Regions from separate parts of the Homo sapiens genome. Here all the other regions are linked to region 3. The links are contacts of gene promoters, found by promoter capture Hi-C in blood cells and fetal thymus (Javierre and others, 2016). All regions are on one chromosome and are shown on one strand. Each heading gives the region's core, a stretch centred on a gene start or on the middle of the fragment in contact. The rest is flanking DNA. Distances are from core to core; before and after follow the strand shown. Region 1 has its middle 110 kb from the start of GAREM1. Region 2 has its middle 89 kb from the start of GAREM1. Region 3 holds the start of MEP1B (meprin A subunit beta). Region 4 has its middle 69 kb from the start of GAREM1.

Region 1 (3,621 bases), core at 1,012-3,511, 390 kb before region 3:
GCTTCATCTCAAAAGCTTTCAGTAGGTGCCTTATGACTCAAAGCCATAATAACACTTTGGTGACTGTCATTCCTAATTAAATCTAAATGGCTATTTTCTACTCCTTATCCACGTTTCGGTGTAGATACTACTTCTTCCAGGAAGCCTTTCTTGATCTCCCAACACCCCCATCCAAGTTAAGAGACTTTTCCAAGTATTCCCAGAGCCTCTGCCCTTCCACCGTCATAGAACTCACCTCACTGCATGATAATTACCTATCAGTCATCTGTTTCAACCATCAGAATGTTGGCCTCTGAGGACCACAACTATGTTTAGCATGTTTACTATTATCCGCTTAATGTTTGATTCAACATCTGTCACATATTGAGCACTCAATACTCCTTGAATAATCAAATCAACGCATGAATAAACAAGTAGGAATTGAGAGAGTCGCTGTCGATCAATCACCATTCCACAATTTATAAACATACAGTGAGTGCCAACTATGTTCCAGGAATAATGACAATGTTGACTTTGTATTTTAAAGGACAATAATTATAACCACTTTTTTCCTCTTACCAAAATGAAGTGGTATTGTATTGCTTAATCATTCAGAAGGTTGCTTTTTAACTAGTTAGTACATAGCAGTCAGTTTCAGCCTTCCCAAGATGGTCATCTTTGGAATGCCAAAAATGAAATGCTTAGAAAGACCATAGATCAAAATAAGCTGTAGCAGCCCCATGCAGAAAAGGCTACCCCTAGAGACCTGATAAAGGAGAGCCACAAATCAAGTGAGCTCTTTTTATTTACTCCTACAAAATTTATCACCATTAAAGCTTTTTGTTTGTTTAACACCCTTTATTGCCAGCATCTGTCATTAACGCAGTTCTTATCTGTTACATCTATTGTAAAGATCACTTAACCAGCAATTGAAACTTTGTATCAATATAACTGGAGACAAGGTATATAAAGTATAATAGTATAAAATGATCAGTGCCTAACACGAGGCAGGAGCTGGGAGACTTGAGTGTAGATGGGATTCAACAACTGAGTTTTACCATCCAGTAGAGGAGTATGGTTGTGAGGGGAAGAAAACAGAGCACCTGCTAACTAGAAAGTGGGAGGATATTTAGGATTGCAAGGATATTCTAAATGAGTTGATATTTTAGTATATCTGGGTCTGCAAGGAATGTGTCAATTAAGAGGGAACAATTGAAAATACAGAAAAGAGGGAGGAAGAAGGCCAGAGAATAGTCCAGGGGGCTCCAGAAAGACAGGAGAGAGGACATACCTAGAAAACATCTACCTGGGGAAAGTCAATGGAATCAGAGGAAGCTGACCAAGGAGCACTTCCTGGCAATGCTTAGAGTCTAGTCCTCCAGGGTACTACTTCTGATCCAAGCTTCATAGAACCCTGGGACCAAGGGATTCGTACAAGGGGTCCAGGAATTCAGAAGTGAGCTAAGCATTATAAGCTGACAAAATAAACACTTATTCCCAGCTGGACTATTTATTTAAAGTACATAGATGCTGTTGTGAATACTTCCATACAAACGCACTTAAAAGTGTAGTGAATCCATTCTAAGGCAGACATAAGGTGCTTCTCTTTTTTTAACTTTAAAAGGCATCCTTAATACTCTGAAAGAGTGGGAGTTTGGGTCTAGATAATGTGGAATCATTCATGATTCCCGAAATAGGGAATAACATGATCACTGCAGAGTTTTTTGAAAGATCCATGTGTCAGCAGTGGATCAGGTGAATTGAAATAGGGCAGAGAATCGAGGCAGGAAAGAGTCATACAAGCCAATCCAAAAAGCTCTGAACAACTCTCCGGAAGCATCTCACACCACCTATATACATCCTGTCTCTTCCTGACATTTCCTCTCGGCTTCCAAAAGAAAACAATGCTCCCAAGGATCCAATGTCGTTTAAAATAGCAAACCTGGTTTTTGTTTTGAATGCCCTCTTTTTCTGAAGATAGAATCAGCTCCAGCATCTGGACAAAACAATGGGATCTGTGGTTCAATCCGGCCACAGCTGTGCAGTCCTTTCTAAAGAGTGTGTCTGTCTTAACTTGATAGAATTCTGCTGGGAGAGCAGCAACAGCGGGCTCTGACTACTGCACTTGCAGCCCCCTAGTGGGGCCTCAGCGGTTCCAAGTTGTAATAAGATTAGCTGAGAACAAATGCAGATAAAATAGTAAAACCATAGTAGGTGAATATAAGAATGTCTTGAGATGTAATGAAGTATTTTCTATAAAAGTCCTATCATGGAAAAAAAATACAACAAACAATAACAGCAACAAAAGCTAAAGCTGATACAATGAGACTGAGTTTAAGAGAAACTGAACATGGAGACAGGAGGAATGCTGATAGAAAAATAAAGATTAAAAGAGCAACATCGTTTGCAAAATGGCTATATGTCGAAATGTAACTGACAAAACTGCCGTCCTAATGAGGGAGTAAGGGTCTTTTCCTTTTTTATTTTTATTATTATCTTTTTTTTTTTTTTTTTTTTTTGAGACGGAGTTTCACTCTTGTCGCCCAGGCTGGAGTGCAATGGCATGATCTCGGCTCATTGCAACCTCTGCCTCCCAGGTTCAAGCGATTCTCCTGCCTCAACCTCCCAAGTAGCTGGTATTACAGGCGCCTGCCACCACACCCAGCTAATTTTTGCATTTTTTGTAGAGACGGGGTTTCACCATGTTGGCCAGGATGGTCTCTATCTCCTGACCTTGTGATCTGCCCTGCTCAGCCTCCCAAAAGTGCTGGGACTACAGGCGTGAGCCACTGCGCCTGGCCAGGGTCTTTTCACAAAGGGCTGGCAGCACAGCCTGCAAGGCTGAGGATCACAGCCACAGCTTCACTGGGTCTCCACAGTCCACAGGGTTTTCTTCTGGTGGTGTCACCCTACTAGATTGACTGCTTGCTTAATTTGGAAACTTGGGGTTGGTTAGGGGAGGAAGAATCGTTGTTTTGTTTTGTTGTTTTTCTCTAGAATTTTACTATCTTTTCAAACACAACAGTAAAAACTAACTGGAATGGTGATGCTTAGACCTGTTGTGTCCTCTGTGCTAATTACTACCTTCCATACAGTCCTGTTGTGTCAAAATGCAAAGCACACTGGTAGCTGTTGGTGACTCACTGATAGTCACCAAGCTTGTGGACCCTCCAAGGAGCACAAACTGCTTGAAAGCCAGGGCTGTAGGTTGGCAAGTCACACCTAAGACTGTGGGACTAGTAAAGAAAGGCCATTAATCTCTTCATCCCTCTCATCACCCCACATCCTCCCACTGCACTCACCCTCCCTCCACTGCAAACTTAGGCTTCAGTTCAGGATCCTACTTTGTCCAAAGAGAGAGAAATCTATCCTACTCGAATATCCCATGCTCCCTTGTTGATTCACACCAATAAATAATTCTCACAGTCTGGAAAGTCTTCCTTATCTTCAGCCAAAACCTAGGGAGACTGTCACCCTATTTCTTCTTTTCTGTCCTCAGGGAAGATATATTAAAGCCATTCATTATCTTTTGTGTAAGAGCCCTTTGTGTCAAAGAAAAATTAGATTTGCTCCTGATCTTAGAGAAACCTCACATTTTACAGCTGGAAGTGATATTAGAAATCATCTCAAGCAATTACCCTC
Region 2 (3,217 bases), core at 62-2,561, 370 kb before region 3:
GGGAGGGAGGGAGGCAGGGAGGCAGGCAGGCAGGCAGGCAGGCCAGGCGGGAGGGCGGGCCCATACTTTAGAACTTCTCCCCAGCCCAATTTCCCATAAAAGTTCACTGTTGGCAATGGAGTAAATGCTTCTAGGAATTGGCAGTAAGGCATGATTCGGGTTGCAGGGAGCAACATCAAAGCAAACAATAACAATACACACCTCAGGCTGGGCCAGTGGTTCATGCCTGTAATCCCAGCATTTTGAGAGGCCAAGGCAGTTCACTTGAGGCCAGGAGTTCGCAACCAGCCAGAGTAACATAGTGAGACTCTGTCTCCCTCAAAAATTAAAAAATTAGCTGGGCATGATGGCACATGCCTGTAGTCCCAGCTACACAGGAGGCTGAGGCAGGAGGATCACTTGAGCCCAGAAGGTCAAGGCTGCAGTGAGCTATGATTGTGCTACTGTACTCCAGCCTGGGCAACAGAGTGAGACTCTGCTTCCAAAAAAAACATATACACATTTCAGATATCCAACAAAGTGAGAAGATCCCTGAAAAAGACAAAGACTTTCTGAGGTGTACAGAGATATGGATAATTATTTTAAAAGTCAATTTTCATATCTTCAACTTTATTTGTACATCTTCCTAGAACTGACCTGCCTGAGAACCTGGGGGAGGATTAGCCTGTTTCTCTTTCATTCCTTCCCCTCCACAGCTGTTCCGTACTGTAGGGTTTCCACTTCAGGAATAAAAGACTCACCTGTCACACACTGTGAATTGAATTATGGTGTAAAAACTTCCAGGATGACACAGAATGGGACATTCCAAACACTGGTATAGGTGAAGCCTCCCTCAGTCATCATGTTCATTCTACTGGAGAATGGGGAGGCAGAAGTGAAGACTATTTCTTTTAACCTTACCTTTTCCACCCCTAATTATAGTCAAAGAATGAAGCACTTCTGAGAGAGGAGCCTGGGAAGGCAAAGCAACAAATGTGGGTAGAAATGGAAAGAGTGTCACTCTTATTCCATCCAGGTGACAACACCCAGCAAGATTCCAGGCCTTTTCTATGTATCTCACAATAGGAGATGTTTGTAAAAAACAAAACAGAGTGTGCTGAGAAACACCAATTTGCTGCAAAGCCAGTCTTTCTGCATTTTCACCGTTTTCAGTAATAACGGTTTAGCGTGAAGATCTATAGATGAGATACTTATTGCATCCTATTGTCTACCTTTTAGGCCCACCTTTGCATGCCAGCCAACCAACTGCATTCCGGGGTAACCTCATTATCACTCATCTTCTACCCCAGTGCCTTTCTGCTGCTGCCATGTGGGATGCCACATTTGATGTTTGCATAAACCTGGAAGTGGGGTAGAATTAATATCTCATGAGGTGACCCTTGACCAACAGTAACAAGACCCAAAGTCTAAATACTCCTCTAATACATCCCTCGGGTGGGCAATTTTGAGGCATATCTGACACGGTTCCTCAAAGGGTCCCTAAGAGAACTGAGCTGCAGTTGCCCACAGCGGTGACCCAACTCAATAACATTCCCCTTTGATTAGCTTTTCCTTCTTCTTTCTTTCAACCCTTCCTATCTCCCACTCCCATTCCTTGGGAATCACTTCTCAAAATAAGCCATCTGCATGCAACACCTTGTTTCAGGCTCTGCTGTTTGGGGGAACCCAGGCCAAGGTGTCTTCGTTACATATTTTGCATGATTTCAGAAGAAAGGGTCAAAATTTCCGTTATCACTTCTGTAGAAGGACAGTATAACTTTGAGTATAAAGAATATATGGTAATAGCTAAGTTAACGTGTTTTTTTAAATATTATTCACATAGGTAGAAGAAACATTTTATTAACCTTTGCCAAAGCATTATTAGATGCTATAGGCTGGGCGCGGTGGCTCATGCTTGTAATTCTGGCACTTTGGGAGGCTGAGGCAGGTGGATCACCTGAACTCAGGAGTTTGAGACCAGCCTGGCCAACATGGCAAGATCCCATCTCTACCAAAAATACAAAAATTAGCTGGGCGTGGTGGCACGTGCCTGTAATCCCAGCTACTCAGGAGGCTGAGGCAGGAGAATTGCTCGAACCCGGGAGGCAGAGGTTGCAGTGAGGCGAGATAGCACCACTGCACTCCAGCCTGGGCAACAAGAGTGAAACTCTGTCTCAAAAAAAAAATTTATTAGATGCTATAAACAGATATTCGTTTTTCATTCAGGCACAAGTCTCCCATTTGTCTGCATTTGTCAATTACTTCCATGCTTATATAATCCAGACTTTAGAGTTTAAGATTAAAATAAAAGGATTGTTATAGGTGTCTATCATAAGTCATGTACTGAGAGCAATATTTAATCCATCTTTTAATTTAGTGCATCTTTTAACTTAAAACATCTTTTATAAGCCCTATAATTAATAATGGTCTATAGTTTTTATGTCAATTTTTACAAAAATATAAACCTATAGTCTTAAAACAGAATATCCTCCTTTATGCAGTTGTCAGACAAAATGTTTCCATATCATATTCTAGTATATAACAAATTAAATCCTAGAAAACCAGCTTCATTGAATTAGAATTAGTTTCTCTTTTGAGGATTCAAATCTCTTCTAATTCTGTCAAATATATAATTGTAAAAATTTATTTTCCATTAAAACTTAATATTAGAATTTATATATAATAATTCTCAGGTGTCATGACTTTTAAAGACTTTTGAGATAACTTCCTAGATTAATTGAAATTTGGCATTAATATATAGATCTCTGCTCAGAAAAAAAATGGGTACATTCCTAAAGTACAAAGCATCCAATTTATGGAGTTATTTTTACCCCAGTTTTATGTCATTTTAGCACCATAAACAAGGGTCTCTAAGTTAAAGACTAATGGGAATAATAGCTAATAAGTTGTATTAAAGTCTTTTTAATACATTTCCTAGATATTGAGAAATTAAATGATTTGCAAAATCAGAGGGTTTCCAATGCTTGCATTTTACAAAATTATATGAGGTCATTATGAGGTCATCAGCTGCCAAATAATTAAAAATACTTTTGATTATGAATTACTATATTGTTCTGGCATACAACTTAGAGGGACTTCAAATAACTGAATGATAGTCCTATCTCAAAACTTCTTCCATTCCACCAACTTTTGCCAGCAAGTTTTCTCAGCACCCACCCCTAGGTTAAGAAAGAAAGGGAAAAAGAGAGTGAGGAAGAAGGATGGAGGAGGTGGGGAG
Region 3 (3,637 bases), core at 489-2,988:
GAATGGTCTTCTTGGATTCAGTTTATATCTAACCATTTGTTGTTTGTTTGTTTTGTCATTAATATTATGGATTACTTCCTGACATGTATTTAGGATGGCTAAATTGAAGTTTAAGATGACTTTTTGACCAAAGGGTCTTCTCATTTCATATGGAAAATGAAACTGCCTGTTAAATCAATTTGAAGGTGAAGGAAACAAGAAACCAACTTCAAAAATTGGGGGGGAAAAGGCAGAACATAAGACTCTAGCTCTCAAATAAGTGCTCACTTTACACACGATTTTCTAAAGCATTCATGGAGCAATGTTTGAAAAACCAAATAATTTATTCTCAATGTTGAAATAATACTGTAATTTATAACAATTCTTTAAAAAGAAATGTTATTCAAGACTCATTAATCAAGTTATTTTGCATTCATGTTTCTCCCAGAATAATTCTGCCTTCAAAGACAATACAAATATTTAAGAAAAACAATGGGTACATTTTGTGATTAATTTTTTTTCTGAAAATAGATTCTCCACAAATGGTCAATGAAACTCAGACTACATGTCCAAAGGAAAAAAAAAAAAAACAACTAAGTAAACCTGAGAAATGTCTTAGTGTGATTGAATTAAAAAGCTCATAGGACTGTCTGGGTTATGTTACCAGTTCTACTAACTAAGGGTAATTCAGTTCACCTTCCAGGTACTCAGACTATCCATAAGATATGGTCAGTACCTGCTTTGCATGGGTATTGTGAGGGTTACAGTATATAATGTGAAAGAAGGCTCATTGTAAGCTATAATAAATTGTCACAAAAGTGTAAAGTACAATTTTATTCAAATACAGCTTACATATCTAAATACTAGAATCATTTGGAGCGTTTAACAAAATGTGGGAATGAACTGGATGGATGGTTACCATCATTTTTGACATTAACAAGTGCTTTGCATGTTTCACACTATAACCACACACAGGCATACACTCATAGAGGAATGCCAGTGCACCTACAGAATAAAATTATCAAGGATTTATTCCTAATTACACTTTAACATGTATTCATCTGTATCTCTTGTTTGCAATGTTCTAGTTCCTATTCATAGAATATCACCCCAATATAATAATTGTTATTTTAAAATAACAACTGAAGGTTTTCCACTAGCCATTTGAAACTTCATTTAAAACCTTGGGTTGGTTTGTGATACAAACTACCTGATAGAAAAGATTAGTCCAAACTGTAGAAGGATGAGTCTAAACTGATGAAGAAGCATAAGAGAAATACCACGTTATAAAACTTTGTAAGTACTGACGGTGCCTGTGACACTCATTCATGTCTCAAGTTACTGTGCAGCAATCTGCATTTCATTCAGCAGTAAAAATGGAATGATTTTCAAAATACACATTTATAATCTCATCAAAAGAAAACTTGTTACACAATGATGAAACTGAAAGGAAAACATAACTTTATATCAATGTCTCTACTCTGGTGTGGCTATTTGTCACTCCCTACACACTGCCCACCCCTAATCTCCAAGAAGAAACACTCATTTGAGATCAACATTTCAAGATGTATAAAAAACAAACAAAAAAAAAACACTTGTTCTTTAACAATCAATATCAACTGCCCCAAAATTTTTAAATTATCTTCTATATACTGTTTCCTTACCAAGCCAGAAATCACGAGAAGAGCATCCAAGAACAGAAACCAAGACAGATTCCATAAATCCATGTTGTAGCTTCCAGTTGAAAGTAGCTAACTATGACATTCAGGGTTGAATTGACTTCTTTAAAGGCAAACATTATAATTTATAGCCTTTGATCTCAATGATCCATATTGCAGGTCAGCTTGATGCTGTAATAATACCTCCAATCAAGGGATGAAAGTCCAGTATTTTTAACACAGCTCTGCGGAGTTGGTTTGTTGGCTTTTTTTTTTTTTTCCTGTGTCAACAATTAAGTGCCTGGCTGAGACTTCTTAATGAATACATTCTCTAATGTATGTGTACTGGTCCTTAGACTAGTAAACACCACTTAAGCAAAAAATATATATATCAAATTAATTTTTAATCTTGATCTTATGAAACTCCTCCTCTCATATAGCCCCATGCTGCTTTAATATATCCAGTTATGTCCACTGCTTTTTATCATTCACTCATTTAATAAAAATTATTGAGTGCCTATAATTTATTGAGTTATAAAATCCATTAATGTGCTAGAAATCAGGCACACCGGTTATTCACATATAGAGTAGTAACATAGCAATGTATCTCATCCCTAAAAATTCCCATCAAGCAAACACTGGTGGGACATGGGTCATAAAAGTAGGAATGGTCACTGATTTTCTAATAAAATAATGTTCCCAATCCATCTCTTAATTCTTTCTCACTTTTTCCTTCTTTTCTTGGGATAATTTCTCTTTAGAAACAACCTGTTCTCTCAGTTCCCATGGCTTCATATTCAACTTACTTAAGATGCAGGATAATATTTTTTGAATACTAATTTTTGGCCATGGTGGCTCACATGTGTAATCCCAGCAGTTTGGGAGGTCAAGGTGGGTGGACCACCTGAGGTCGGGAGTTCAAGCCCAACCTGGCCAACACAGTGAAACCCCATCTCTACTAGAAATACAAAAATTAGCCAGGTGTGGTGGTGCATGTCTGTAATCCCAGCTACTTGAGAGGCTGAGGCAGGAGAATTACTTGAACCTGGGAGGCAGAGGTTGCGGTGAGCCGAGATCACACCACTGCACTCCAACCTGGGCAACAGAATGACACTCCATCTCAAAAAAAAAAAAAAAACCTAATTTTTTTCTAGTTTCCCCTTCCCCTCTCCAGCTTAGCCTTCACCCCATTTTGTGCTAATAGGAAGACTATCAAGAGACATGTAGCATAGACAAGGAGTTTGAGAGGTTGCTTCCTGAGTACAAGCCAGCACTTCCCACCCTATGAGGGTAGGATGAGAATTAAATGGGAAAACTGAAAACTGTAGTTATAGTCAGTTCTTCACTTGATCCCTGAGATCCCCTAGATATATTATAGGATCCAAAATCAAATGGTCCTGTTTCTTGGCTAGAGCTACAAGGAAGCAAAGGGACTCTACAGAAGAAGGCACATCTTGGGAAGAGGAGAATAACTCCTGGGGCCAAGGGAAGCATAGAAGTATCAGAAAAAGCTGTCATGCCTGAAGAGCCATGTGGATAGGAATAAGGATGTCTCCATTGCAGGCTGCACAGAATCACAAATAAGGACCAGACAGAGGGACTGATATTTTAGAGGATGCCTGTGAGGATAGATGACATCAGGGATCATAAGGGACCTTCCCAATGCATTGGGACTGTTAATTAAGGTTAGGCACAAGCCTAAAGGTAAAATGTGAATCCTGAATTAGCCGCAATTAAATTTTTGACATCTATGTGAATGGGAACCTAAAATATCAATTATTATAACAGACCAATGGAACAGAGTAGAGAACCCAGAGAAACCAGATGCCAAGAACTTACACTGGGGAAAGGACAGTCTCTTAATAAATGGCGCTGAGAAACTGGATATCCATATACGGAAGAATAAAAATAGATCTCTGTCTTTCATCATATACAAAAATCAACCCAAAATGGATTAAAGATTTAAATGTGGCTGGGCACGGTGGCTCACACCTGGAATC
Region 4 (3,325 bases), core at 766-3,265, 350 kb before region 3:
ATGGGGGGATAAAACCAATAGATAGATGTTTTTCTCTATGATAAACACATTCCTAAAATTTAATCAGAATTAAGATGGCAATTTTCCCTTTTAGGTAAGAGCAGCATTTTGTTGATGTGTTTGAAAATGCCTAAACCCTTTGAAAGAACAATAATTCCTTTAGGTGACATGGTAGAGGGGCCGTGGTGATACTGAGGGGAAGGAACATATAAGGTCCCCTGTCTTCTATGCAACAGCACCTGTCACTTTTATGATTGCTAAAAGCTCTACCAGCTCATGAGGCCCTAGTAGATCACACAGCCAGGAAGTGGGAGATGAAGAGTGGGTAGGAAAGAGCTGGAAAAGCTGGAAGGACTGAGATTGCTTGCAAGGAGAGAAATGAAGGCAGGAAGTGGCGGGCGGAGAGGCAGGGAGAGTGGTACAGGGGAGAACACTGGAAGCAAACCAAACCACCACCACACATGTGCCAAGGGATGGCCACAACCTTCATCATGATAATTTACTAAATAGTGCCTCATAAAGATTAAGGAAAATGGGGAGAGGAATGTGGTGAGTTGGGAGAGATGGGGAGTCACAAAGATTGACTACCTGGAATCCTAAAATAACTCTCTCAGAAGAAACTCTGCCCAAAATGCCCCATTTGGTTTAACACAAATAAACCTGCACCCCGACACCATCCAGCCAGCCTCCTTCCTGCCTGCATGCCTGCCTCTTCAGTATTTCTCAATGCTTTGAACTCTCATCAGTTGAATGTTTTGATGTATTTTACGAAACATTGGAGAGTCTTGATTGCTTATGACTCAACTAATCTTGTCCTAATGAAGACAAGGAAAATATTTTTCTTTAAAGAAAAATAAAGTGACCTAATTGTGTATCCATGGTAATTTTTATTTGAATATTATCTCTGGAGACAAAGGCAGAGGAGTCATTTTGGGTGTTTACAAATTATGTTATTTGCATAAGGATCTAATCTCACCTAGTTTATCTGGTTATTGATATGGGCATGGAAAACCAAACTGGAAAAGATAGATGATGGATGAATGTGGAAAATCCATTAAGTTAGATCCCACTAATTCAGAAATGGTGATATATCCAGCCTTGAGAAAACGTACCTCCCATTTATTTAAACAGTAGGCAAATTAATAATGTAAAAATAGTAGAAGAAAATACTGTTTGACCTACTAAAGCAAACAATACCTCACCTTACTCAGATATCAAGTACTATACATGTCTAAGTTTCAAATAGGAAACTCATAGCCTATTTTTCATGAACACGGTCATGAAATAAGCCAGTGGCAGACTTTTTCTTTTAAAATTTGGACCAATCTCTTATTTATAAAGTAAATAAAAGCGTAGCTAGAATGCTTTGTCAACTTAAAAGGACACTCTCAATTTACATACAAGATGTATGTTGCTATGTTCTAAAATTAAATTTGCATTTACCTACTAGTTATCTTATTTCTGGATCCTGGGACACTTTATCCCAAGAAACAGAGTCACTTTGTTCAGCAGACTCCAAAGTTCCCTGATCTTTGGTGAGATGACTGCAGAATAAAAGACTTAATGATTGTCTGGAACACTGGTTTTTATGTGTACATGGAGTATTTTCACAAAACAGGTGTCAAGATGATTCAGGGCGATTATATCTTCTGAGTAGGAGGAGAACAAGGAGAACAGAGATGTGACACTATCACATTCACATTCCTTGATCCATTTTCACATCTTAAATATTTTAAAAAGCTGGGAGATCATTTTCTTTTTGTTTTTTGTTTTGTTTTGTTTTTGAGATGTAGTCACCCAGGCTGGAGTGCAACGGCGCAACATTGGCTCATTGCAACCTCCACGTCCCAGCTTCAAGTGATTCTCCTGTCTCATCCTCCTGAGTAGCTGGGATTACAGGTGCCCGCCACCACACCTGGCTAATTTTTGTATTTTTAGTACAGACAGAGTTTCACCACGTGGGCCAGGCTGGTCTCGAACTCCTGACCTCAGGTGATCCACCACCTTGGCCTCCCAAAGTGCTGGGATTACAGGCATGAGCCATTGTGTCCGGCCAAAAGCTGGGAGATCATTGGTAAAACCTGTCACTCACTCTATCTAAATTCCACAGGAACCTACTGGCTTATTTAGACTTTGGAAGATATGTATGATAGCTACAAGTTCTCCCTGAAATACTTCAAATATGAAAAGTCAAGAAGGGAAGCCAAGGTCCTTCCTCTTTTCACAAAATTTGCCTTGACTCACTCACCTATGTTCATTGATTCATTGGTTCCATGAATACTTACTGGGTCCTATTACATATACAGTAATTAGAAAAAGTGAAGATTTAGATTCCCTTCCTCCTAAAGTATGTATAGTATGGAGGTTCTGGGGTTAGGGGTAGCACTTCGAGCAAGATTTGAATGGAAGTAAACATAAAACATTAAGAAAAATAGAAAAACAGGCACATTTTCTATCTCTTCTTAAAAGAAGAAGCAAAATTGAGTAGAAGGAGAGAAAAATCATTTCCTAGGAGGAGACTTGAGAAAGTATTTGGAGAATATGGTGGTAGTTGAGGTGGATTTGCAAAATTGTTTTCAGCATGACACGAAAGTGAACTGTCCAGGAGAGAGTAACTTGAGGAGCTAAGAAATTGACATGGAAAACTAAAAATATAGGGTGATGTTAAAATCATAACTTGGGATTTAGGTACATGAAAGGAAATATTAGCAAAGACTTTGGCAAGGTAGAATAGGCCATTTATTCAACAGACATTTGTCAAAAAGTCTGCTATGTACCAGACACTCTACTAAGCACTGGGAATAAAAAGTTGGTTAAAGACTTTTCTACCGATAGTAATCCCGTTAGACTAACAGCACTGGCGTCACCTGGGTCTTATTAGGAAGGAATCAGATCCCACTCAACATCTAATGAGTCAGAATATGCATTTTAACAAAATCCCTAGGTGATTCCTACCAACCTTAAGTTTAGGAACTACTGACGTAATACATTGTTCGTATTTAAGGAGCTTACAGATTATTGGAGGAGACAAGCAAACCTGTAAATGCAGTGTACTATGATAAATGCTGTGAGAGAAGATGGGGAAGCATGCTGAAAAGCAAGTCAAACAGGGGGAAATGTCAAAGGAGGGAGAAAAAGAATACAGTTGTGAACCTATATTACAAATGCAGCACAGCTGTGCCAGTATCGTCTAACTGAAGCCATTTACCAATTGATAGAACATTCATTTTATTTATTGTTTTTTTTTTTAGAGACAGGGTCTTGCTGTCACCTAAGCTGGAGTGCAATGGTGTGATCGTAGCTTACTGCAGCCTCCAACTACTGG

Evidence for each region. Contacts are between HindIII fragments. The CHiCAGO score rates a contact against its expected background, and 5 or more counts as called.
Region 1: a fragment that was not itself captured here is called in contact with the fragment with the promoter of MEP1B in region 3 in 2 of 17 cell types (total CD4 T cells and naive CD8 T cells); the score reaches 5.1 in total CD4 T cells.
Region 2: a contact is called between a fragment that was not itself captured here and the fragment with the promoter of MEP1B in region 3, in 4 of 17 cell types (activated CD4 T cells, non-activated CD4 T cells, naive CD8 T cells and 1 more). The highest score is 8.7, in activated CD4 T cells.
Region 4: a fragment that was not itself captured here is called in contact with the fragment with the promoter of MEP1B in region 3 in 1 of 17 cell types (total CD4 T cells); the score reaches 5.1 in total CD4 T cells.

What each region holds. Positions count from the first base shown.
Region 1 is chr18:32,574,975-32,578,595 of GRCh38, reverse strand. No RefSeq gene overlaps it. Among named protein-coding and RNA genes, the nearest start is that of GAREM1, 110 kb to the right of the region's middle. The HindIII fragment of the contact is 1,756 bases long and covers 1,384-3,139 here.
Region 2 is chr18:32,557,949-32,561,165 of GRCh38, reverse strand. No RefSeq gene overlaps it. Among named protein-coding and RNA genes, the nearest start is that of GAREM1, 89 kb to the right of the region's middle. The HindIII fragment of the contact is 4,086 bases long and covers 1-3,217 here.
Region 3 is chr18:32,188,140-32,191,776 of GRCh38, reverse strand. MEP1B (meprin A subunit beta) reads right to left here and starts at 1,738. Exons shown (of 15, transcript NM_005925.3): 1 at 1,644-1,738. The coding sequence starts at 1,706. The HindIII fragment of the contact is 13,410 bases long and covers 1-3,637 here.
Region 4 is chr18:32,538,090-32,541,414 of GRCh38, reverse strand. No RefSeq gene overlaps it. Among named protein-coding and RNA genes, the nearest start is that of GAREM1, 69 kb to the right of the region's middle. The HindIII fragment of the contact is 4,340 bases long and covers 1-3,325 here.